Regions from separate parts of the Homo sapiens genome. Here regions 2 and 3 are each linked to region 1. Evidence: promoter capture Hi-C in human tissues and cell types (Jung and others, 2019). All regions are on one chromosome and are shown on one strand. The core of a region is centred on a gene start or on the middle of the fragment in contact, and the rest is flanking DNA. Distances in the headings are between cores, read along the strand shown. Region 1 holds the start of TSSK6 (testis specific serine kinase 6). Region 2 overlaps MAU2 (MAU2 sister chromatid cohesion factor). Region 3 holds the start of GMIP (GEM interacting protein).

Region 1 (3,335 bases), core at 553-3,052:
GTTTTCGAACTCCTGACCTCAAGATATCTGCCCGCTTCGGACTCGCAGTGTTGGGGTTACAGGCGTGAGCCACCGCGCCTGGCCCTTGGCTCTGCCTTTTGGCAAGTGACATCCATGTGGGCCTCAGTTTCCTTATCTATAAACTCCTACTTTACGTGGAGACAGGCCACCCTCGCCCCACCCCTGGCTGTTCCATTCTTAAAAGATGTGGACGGCGAGGCGCTGGGGTCCACTTGCTTCCCAGCCCATCATCACAGCGACATCACGACCCGGGGACAACAAAGCTCCTTTGAGTTTGCCCATACTGGGGAGCTCAAAAGGTCCAGGCTCGAATCCTCCCGACTCCCTTTTGAGTCTTGGAGCAATAACCTCAACATGCGTGACTCTAAAATAGGGTACCCGCGCCTGCCTTCCCCGGATGGAGCGATCGCTTCTCCACTAGTCCGCAAATGGGGGCCACCGTTAGAGCCAGGTGCGAGGAACAGCGAGTTTATTGCAGGTTCCAACCGGGAACCTGGCACCCACGGCTGGTTGGGAAGGGACGCCCTCCGCGCAGAGGCTGAGAGTTCCGCGCAGGCGCAATGCTTCCGTCCCCTCTGGTCTCGCCCTCTCGGGGCCTGGTCGCAGGGAATCGCGGATGCGCATGCGCCTCCAGCTCCCGGGATCGCGGGGAACGTGGATTCCGAACAAGGGCAACTGCGGACTCCCCCGTGGGAAGAAAGGGAGGGAAGCGGAAGGGAAAAAGCGCATGTGCAGCAGCACGCGGCAGCTTCGCATATTCCCTCGAAGCGCGCCTCTTGCGCGTGCGCCGCCCTGGCCCAGTGCCCTTGGCTGCAGGAATGGCTGGAACCACCCGGCTTCTAGCCGGAGTCCCCGGCGCGCAGCCAGCAGTTGCGCGCTACCTGGCCCGCGGAGGGCCTGGCGGACGGGCTGAACTGCAGCAGCTCGGCGATCAGGGCCTTGCAGCGCTCGGACAGCTCGAGGCCTTCGGGATAGAGCACGCCGCGTTTCTGGCGCCGGGGCAGGCCGGCGATGTCCGAGTCGTCGAAGGGCATGCACCCGGTGACCATGACGTAGAGCACGACGCCCATGCTCCACACATCGTACTTCTTGGGGTCGTAGGGGATGCCCAGGAGCACCTCGGGTGACGCGTAGGCGGCTGAGCCGCAGTAGGTGGTGCTCAGGTCTGGGTAGCCATGGGCCTGGCGGCCGAAGCCGAAGTCGGTGAGCTTGACGCGGCGCTCGTCCGGGCTCAGCAGCACGTTTTCGCACTTGAGGTCGCGGTGCACCAGGTGATGATCGTGCAGGTAGCGCACGGCGCCGGCGATCTGCGCAAAGAGGTCGCGCGCCTGAACTCCGGGGATGCGCCCGTTGCGCTGCACGGCTTGCAGCAGGTCGGTGGCGGCCGCTTCCATCACGATGTACAGTTTCCCGTTGCACACCTCGATGAACTCGAAGACGTGCACGATGTGCGGGTGTCGCACGCCCCGCAGGATGGACAGCTCTCGCGGCAGGAACTTGTTGACGAAGTCCGGGGGCGCTCGCCGCCGGTCCACCACCTTGATGGCCACGGTACCCTTGTACTTCTTGGATGTGGCCACCTTCACCTTGGAGTAGCTGCCCTCTCCAATTGTGCGGCCCAGCTTATAACCGAGTTCGCTCAGAAGTTTGTCTCCCGACATGGTGGCGCCTAGGGCGCACGGGGGGCAGGAGGCGGCTGCTGTCGGGGGGCGGCCGGACTCCAATCTCGGGTCTAAGCCATGGCGCTTGGCACCTACACCCCCGCACCCCCATGTGCCCACTGCCAGACATTGGCCGCTGTTGTGCCTTTTATTGCCCCGTAACAATTTTTGCCTTGTGAAGTGACTGCGGGCGTCACTCCGCCTTAGGGTGGGGGTCCGGGACCCCGCCCCGGGGCCACCCTAGCCTCCCTGCTTTGTGACTCATAATCATCCTGAATGGTCAGTTTCCGATGAGAGGCCACTAGCAAGGGATACCCATCACCACCAGGGAGCAGAATCCGTTCCAGGGATTGGGGTGAGTCCGACTTCGAGCAGCAGCTGCCCCCCAACATCATGTACCCAGCCCGTGACTACGTGGAGCCCTGGGCTTCGCGTAGAGTCCCTAGACGGGGCGAAAACGGGAAAAGGGGCCTTAACTGGGGCACCTGGCTCCTTTGAGAGCTCGGAGTTTCTGACTGGCCTGCGCAACACCCCAGAGGCAAGGTGAACGCGAGGGCCTATAATGCAAGAACCAAGGCGAGTCACGCCCTGTCTGGGCAAAAGAGGAGTAAAGACCCCTCAGCTGCAGCCCGGCAGCGCATTCCTACCCAGGGTCCGCCGCCAGAGCTTTCCCGCGCGGTCGGATAGTTACACTACTGTCCGGGACTTCCTAGCCGTGCCGCGGACCATCTCAAGTGCTTCCGCCACACTCATCATGGCGGTGGCAGTAAGTCACTTCCGCCCGGGACCGGAAGTGTGGGATACTGCGAGTATGGCGGCGTCAAAGGTGAAGCAGGACATGCCTCCGCCGGGGGGCTATGGGCCCATCGACTACAAACGGAACTTGCCGCGTCGAGGACTGTCGGGTCAGTATCACTCTGCGCCGGGGTCTCAGAGTCTGGGCACTCGGGGCTCGGGGGCGGGGTTCCGGGGACACAGGCGGGCCTCAGTTTTCCCGGCGGTGTGACCGGAGGCGGAGCCCGGGGATCCATCATAGCTTCTGTAATAACGCTAAGTGCTGCAGTTTGTTGAGGTCTTTCCCAGCTCCTCTTCCTTCTCGTAACAGCCCAGGAAATCGGTCCCTCTAGTTATTTACGTTTTACAGTGGGTTAAACTGAGTCATAGCCTGTGCTCTGGCCCTCAGCCACCCTTGGATTTCTAAGATGGGGAAACTGAGGCCCAAAGAAGGCCGCGGCTCCCCAAGGCAAAGCTGAGGCCGCAACCCGGAACCTGGAGGGAATTTACAAGATGTTCTATGCAGTGGTTCCCTGCTGGCAGCCCCCGCCTGCATGGTGTCACAGGAATCCATATTCTTTAAATTTTCAATTTTTTTTTTTTGAGACGGAGTTTTGCTCTTGTTGCCCAGGCTGGAGTGCAATGGCGCCATCTCGGCTCACCGCAACCTCCGCCTCCTGGGTTCAAGCGATTCTCTTGCCTCAGCCTCCTGAGTAGCTGGGATTACAGGCATGTGCCACAACGCCTGGCTAACTTTGTGTTTTTAGTAGAGACGGGGTTTCTCCATGTTGGTCAGGGTGGTCTCGAACTCCCAACCTCGGATGATCCGCCCACCTCGGCCTCCCAAAGTGCTGGGATTACAGGCGTGAGCCACCATGC
Region 2 (2,500 bases), core at 1-2,500, 170 kb before region 1:
CCAGCCACCCTGCCTGGTGGGTCTCGTCACCCCTAGTTGATAAATGCTGGTGTCCAACGTCAGAGCAGAGCAGACAGGCCTGGGGTCGGGGGTACCTCCCTGACTGGTCAGGTCCCTTGTGCCCAGTCATGCTCAGTTGAAACAGGTGGTAGCTGCTTTTCCCAATTATTATCAGTGTTGTGACAGGGACACTCGGGATGAGGCCAGGATCAGAACTCAGCCCTCACTGACCACCAGCATGTCCTTTGGAGGTCGTGAGTTCTTTCCAGATGCTCAAGTGTCTAATCCATCCAGGGACCTTTGACTAGCACAAACCCAGAGCAGACGTCCCTGGCTGGTATAGTGTGCCCATTAGTCGGTCTGTTTGCTCCCTCGTGAGTGCTGCTGGGGGAGAAGGCATCAGAGCCAAGGCAGCCCAAAGCCGGATAGGCCCTGTGCTTCTCTTATTCCCATATGAGGATGGTTGCTTGGGGCTGTTGGGAGGTGGGGCCCAGCCCAGGTCCCCCTACCCGACTGCCTGAGGCTCTGCTGCATGGTGTCATGATCCAGGGTGGTTTCCACATTTCTACATTTCTAGAACCTGCCATGTCCACAAGCTCTTGAGCACGTAGGGTGAGGGTGAGGGTGAGAGCCAACCCTTCTTGGAGCACTGTGGGAACCAACCTCTGGCTCCAGCTCCGTCTCCCCACCTGGACAGCAAGACACACTCCTTCACTCAGAGGGTGCAGTGGGGACTAGGGGAGATGACGGGGTGGGTGCCTAGCCAGTGTGGCAGGAGACAGGAACGAGGTGGGGGCACGGTGGGCTGGGGGTGGCGCCTCCTCTGGCCTCCCCTGCATGCTTACCCCTGACTCTCACCCATAGTGCTGGACTGCAGCCCCATCCTGTCATCCTTCCAAGTGATCCTGCTGGAGCACATCATCATGTGCCGCCTTGTCACGGGTCACAAGGCCACGGCGCTGCAGGAGGTAAGGCTGGAAGCAGGAGGGGCGGGAAGGCCCAGGAGTTTGTTGGGTCTCAGCAGTGTCAGACAAGAGACTGAATTCGCCAAGTGCATACTGGCAGGCCAGCCCATCCTGCTGTCTCGCTGTCGGCCAGCGTTTTACAGCCCTGCATGGGCACCACTGATCAGAGAATCTCATACAAAAACCAGTGGAGGCCGGGCGCAGTGGCTCACGCCTGTCATCCCAGCAGTTTGGGAGGCCGAGGCGGGTGGATCACTTGAGGCCAGGAGTTTGAGACCAGCCTGGCCAACATGGCGAAACCCCGCCTCTACTAAAAATATAAAAATTAGCCAGGTGTGGTGGCAGACACCTGTAATCCCAGTTACTTGAGAGGCTGAGGCAGGAGAATAGCCTGAACCCAGGAGGCAGAGGTTGCAGTGAGCCGAGATCGCACTACTGCACTCCAACCTGGGCAACAGAGTGAGACTCCATCTCAAAAAAAAAAACCCAAAAAACTAATGGGCCATGGCCCAAAAGCTTGCACACCAAGGGGATAGCGCACATGGTCTCTGGGGATTTGGGGGGTCCTTTGACAGTGATTGTTATACCCCACCCTGCCATTAGGAACACTCTACCCCCAGTACCCACCCTCCTGAGAGGGCATGGGGGCCCTCAGTAGGCTGGAGGTCCTTTACAACCCAGACACCTGTTGGACAGAGTGGAAGAGACGAGTAACAGACAAGGGTCCCTGTCCACGATGGGATCTGGGCTGCCCTTTGCCCTCATGGTGGACGTGTCTGCTGGGGCTTTGTACCCCAGTTTGGTCAGACAGGACATGGGCTCACCCACCAGCTATGGGGTCTCTCCATTGCTGCTCAGACGCCAGGTCCCAGGTTGCAGTCCTGTGATGGCAGTACACTCTCTCCCGGCAGATCTCCCAGGTCTGCCAGCTGTGCCAGCAGTCCCCCCGGCTCTTCTCCAACCATGCAGCACAGCTGCACACATTGCTGGTGAGTAACCCTGTGACAACACCCCGGGAGAATCCAGAATGTTCTCAGTAAGTAAGTACCTAACCAGATCCAGAACATTCCCAGTGAAGGACCCCCTGACAGCACCCTAATCAGAATCCGGAATGTTCCCATAGGTAATCATATAACCTTCCCAGGCACGATCCGGAATGCTCCCAGTGAGCATCTTGTCCCACCCCACATTGGCTTGGGTCTGAAAGGTGGGGACAGTGAGCATATTACCTGCCTTGCAGCTGGCTCGGTAGAGCCATTGTCATACTCCTCCAGGGCAGCCGTGCAGGCCCCGGGCACACCACGTGTCTCTGATCTGAGCCCCCTCCCCAGGGGCCGGCCCTGATGACAACACCACCTTCTTCCAGGGCCTGTACTGTGTCTCTGTCAACTGCATGGACAACGCGGAAGCCCAGTTCACCACGGCCCTGCGGGTAAGGTGCCGGCCCTCCTTGCTGCTCGGGGCGGGCCACACTTCTGAGTAAGGAGTCGGGCGTGGTCTGTGATGAGGACAGCAGTCGCGCTAGGTCAGCTATG
Region 3 (3,335 bases), core at 514-3,013, 130 kb after region 1:
AAGCAAACAGGGCAGGGGCCTGGCCTTCCTAAGGCCCCCTCTGCTTGAGGTCTTCCTCCCTGTTCCCCTACTCCCCACTCACAACAGTGGCTGTAGGGGTCTTGTCAGGTTCTGGGTCTTCTGAGAGTAGAGGGTCTCCAGCCAGCATCTCAAGGGTCCTGGGGGATAAAGGTGTGTCAGGATGCCACCTTACACCCAGTCTGTCCTGCCAAGGGGTGCTGGGGACCTTAGGGTTGTTTGTGGCAAACATCACCTCTGTGGCATCTCTTGTGTCTGGGAGGTCTGAAGAATGGTGTTTTGGGGGAATCAGGTGAGTTTTTTTTAAATAGGACTTGAAAAAGCATCTGAAGGGCCCCAGATAACTTTGAGGTTCATAGAGTGGGATTATAGGGATCGCAAATATTTTAAGGGGTTACAAGGATATGTAGGGGTTCTAGGACCACTTTGGGGATTTCCAGTCTATTTAGGGGGACACTTTTAGGATACCGAGGCATTTTGGAGGGTCCCATCCTAGACTTCTCTGGTTATTAGGTATGTAGGTCCAGATGTTACAGGTTCCAAATGGGACTGCAAGGCACCTAAATGGTTAGGGGCTTGGGGCATCTTGGCAGGATTTGGGGGTGATCCAGGCTCAGACTCACACGTTCCCCAGTGAGATTTCGAGGTTGTCCAGGCTCCGGAAGATGTCACTGTACCTCTTCCTGCCCTCAGGACCTGGGGGGAGTCCTAGGGGAGGGGAGTGTAATACATGGGCTAACCACTGCCTCCCTCCACCCACGGCACCTCAACCAGTCTCATTTGGAGGGGGTGGAAGAGAAAGGGAAGAGTGAGAGAGAGAAAGAGAGGGCTGGGGGGGGCTTGGTTGGGGCCAACTCGAGGCAGGCAGATGGACTCACACACCACCAGAGACCAGAGACAGCTGCTCGGGGAACAGAGACACCCACTCCCTGGGTCTGCCTGCACCCAGAAGCAAACCAACAAAACAGATGCCCCAGATGCAACCAGGCTGTCCCGAGAAGAAAGCCGGTCTGACAATGGAACCACGGGCTAGACAGATGGAAATACACAAGGGACAGCCAGGCAGAGCCTGGGGCAGAAACACACATGGAGAGACTGAAGCCGTGAGGGACATAAAGACCGAATGACACTCCACATACACAACACAGACACAAAGACGGCCGGAAACACCAAGTCGGACCCCGCCACATTTCTACTGCTGCCCCCCTGCCCCCTCTCCTAAGGGGCCTAGACCAGCACTGCCGACTCCCCAGGGCTACAGAGGGGCCCTGTGGGGATCCTACCGCGTTGCCCTCTCCCTCAGCAGTCGTGGCACCCTGCCCCCATCACAAAAATCAGAAGCAGAAGCAGTCACTTCCCCTTCCTGGGCCCCCTCCCCCAGGCGTCTGGGGTGAGGGATCAAAAGGGGGAGGGGGAGTGAAGGGCTGGGGTCCTGAACCCATCCGGGCACAGGGCTCCCCACAATGGAGGATCCCTGGGTCCTTCCCATTCAGGAACTCCTCTCCTGGCTCTCAGGACGGAGCGGGACAAGTGTGTGCCCTCAATGTAGGAAGCAGGGGATGGTCGGGGGAGGCCCCTCCCGGATCCCCGACCCCCTACCCGGCTCTGCTGCGTCCATATCTGGGCCCGGGGATCGCTCTGCAGGGACCGGGATGGGGATGGGGTCGCGCGCCGGCGGGGCCGAGCCCCGATTTCCTGCCGCCGCAGCCGCCGCCGCCGCCTCGGTTCCGCGTCGCCCTGCCCAGCGGAGGCCACGCCCCCGCATCAGACCACGCCCCCGTAGCCCGGAAGCCTTGATAGTGCCCTTCTCTACCTGAGCCGCTTGAAACTGGGTCGGGCCAGGGCCCCCTGAGCGACCACTCGAGGCTGCAGTGCCCCTGACCTGGGCATCCTAAGACTTCATCTGGGCCATAGGTTCCCTCTCAGATCTTTGTGCTACCCCAAATCCCACGGAGCCCCAGCCCCCTCCTCCCTGAATGGTTGCAGAGTCCACCTGTCCCGGGGGGCCTCTCCCAGGAGCTCCCACAACCCGCGACCCTGGTGATCCCCTTGCCCAGGTTGTCTCTCGGAGCCCTGAAACCACCTGGGCCTCGCTGGAGCCATGGCGCCCCCTGGTGGAGGCCTGATATTCTGTCCGATTCCAACCAAAATTCTAATACTCGGGCTGGAGAACCCCTGGCCTGGGGGACGCCCCTTCCGTGACCCTCAAAGCTGGATCAGGCTCAAGGCCCCAATTACAGCACACCAGGGAGCAGCCCTTTTAGGTAGGGAGTGGAGGTTTGTCCAAAAGCACCAGCTCTGGGGTTGCCACAAGCCGCCTGTTATAAAAATGCTCCCACCCCCAGCACAGTGGAATTTTGGGGCTGGAAATAGACTTTAAAGTATGTTTATAACTTTGTGTCCAAAGGCTTTGGCTGTTAAGGAGGCAAGGATTCTCTGACTGGCTCCGTGCTGCCTACTCTGCAGTTCTTGAGTTGTGATGAGTGAGTCCATTGAAAGGAATAACACTATCAACCTAAGAGCCAAGCCAGGTTTCCAGGTCACATCCTGGCTGATGCTCAGCCAGAGCTCCCTGACTGTGACATGAGATGGTAGAGCAGCGCAGGCCCCCAAAGAGCATGACAGAGTCAGTACTTGTTTGTTTTTCTTTTGAGTTGGAGTCTCGCTCTGTTGCCCAGGCTGGAGTGCAGTGGCGTTATCTCGGCTCACTGCAAGCTCCACCTCCTGGGTTCACGCCATTCTCCTGCCTCAGCCTCCCGAGTAACTGGGACTACAGGCACTCGCCACCATGCCTGGCTAATTTTTTGTATTTTTAGTAGAGATGGGGTTTCACTGTGTTAGCCAGGATGGTCTCGATCTCCTGACCTTGTGATGGGCCCGCCTTGGCCTCCCAAAGTGCTGGGATTACAGGCTTGAGCCACCGGACAGAGTCAATACTTGTAATGATGCAGATCATATTCCTCAAGTCTCAGACACCACCCGAGAGAAAGGCATGCTGTTATGTATTATGGGAAAGAAAAAAATATCACACATCCTAAGGCTTCTCTCAGCACCTGAGTTGTTAAAATGTGAAAGAGACCTCAGAAATATGGGGGTGCTTGTTAAACTAGAAAATATGCACTGAATTCTCTGGGCAGGGACAAGTCCATGTTCAAGTGCTGAAAGTGCCAGAGGGTTTCACCAACATCACACGCCTGTGGGGAGGGTGCTGGGACCTTCCTCAGTGACCCTCTGTCCCCGAGCCCCCAGCAAACACCGTGTGGCACAGACGAGGTGGAGGCAGGGCTTTTTAAAATCTCAGATGCTGCTTTATTTAC

Evidence for each region. Contacts are between HindIII fragments. The study calls those that stand out against the background at their distance.
Region 2: a contact is called between a fragment that was not itself captured here and the fragment with the promoter of TSSK6 in region 1, in 3 of the 25 tissues and cell types used here (heart left ventricle, heart right ventricle and spleen).
Region 3: the fragment with the promoter of GMIP here is called in contact with the fragment with the promoter of TSSK6 in region 1 in 8 of the 25 tissues and cell types used here (IMR-90 fibroblasts, adrenal gland, aorta and 5 more).

The regions. Positions count from the first base shown.
Region 1 is chr19:19,513,746-19,517,080 of GRCh38, forward strand. TSSK6 (testis specific serine kinase 6) reads right to left here and starts at 1,803. Exons shown (of 1, transcript NM_032037.4): 1 at 474-1,803. The coding sequence starts at 1,682. The coding sequence ends at 861. It overlaps NDUFA13 (NADH:ubiquinone oxidoreductase subunit A13), which reads left to right and starts at 2,480. Exons shown (of 5, transcript NM_015965.7): 1 at 2,480-2,587. The coding sequence starts at 2,494. RefSeq lists a silencer at 2,049-2,168 and an enhancer at 2,379-2,658. The HindIII fragment of the contact is 21,153 bases long and covers 1-3,335 here.
Region 2 is chr19:19,342,973-19,345,472 of GRCh38, forward strand. MAU2 (MAU2 sister chromatid cohesion factor) reads left to right here. Exons shown (of 19, transcript NM_015329.4): 10 at 865-968; 11 at 1,877-1,954; 12 at 2,332-2,397. Among named protein-coding and RNA genes, the nearest start is that of MAU2, 23 kb to the left of the region's middle. The HindIII fragment of the contact is 8,189 bases long and covers 1-2,500 here.
Region 3 is chr19:19,641,894-19,645,228 of GRCh38, forward strand. It overlaps GMIP (GEM interacting protein), which reads right to left and starts at 1,764. Exons shown (of 21, transcript NM_016573.4): 1 at 1,618-1,764; 2 at 642-726; 3 at 83-158. The coding sequence starts at 1,636. It overlaps ATP13A1 (ATPase 13A1), which reads right to left. Exons shown (of 26, transcript NM_020410.3): 26 at 3,305-3,335. RefSeq lists enhancers at 641-1,596, 818-977 and a silencer at 1,608-1,857. The HindIII fragment of the contact is 23,421 bases long and covers 1-3,335 here.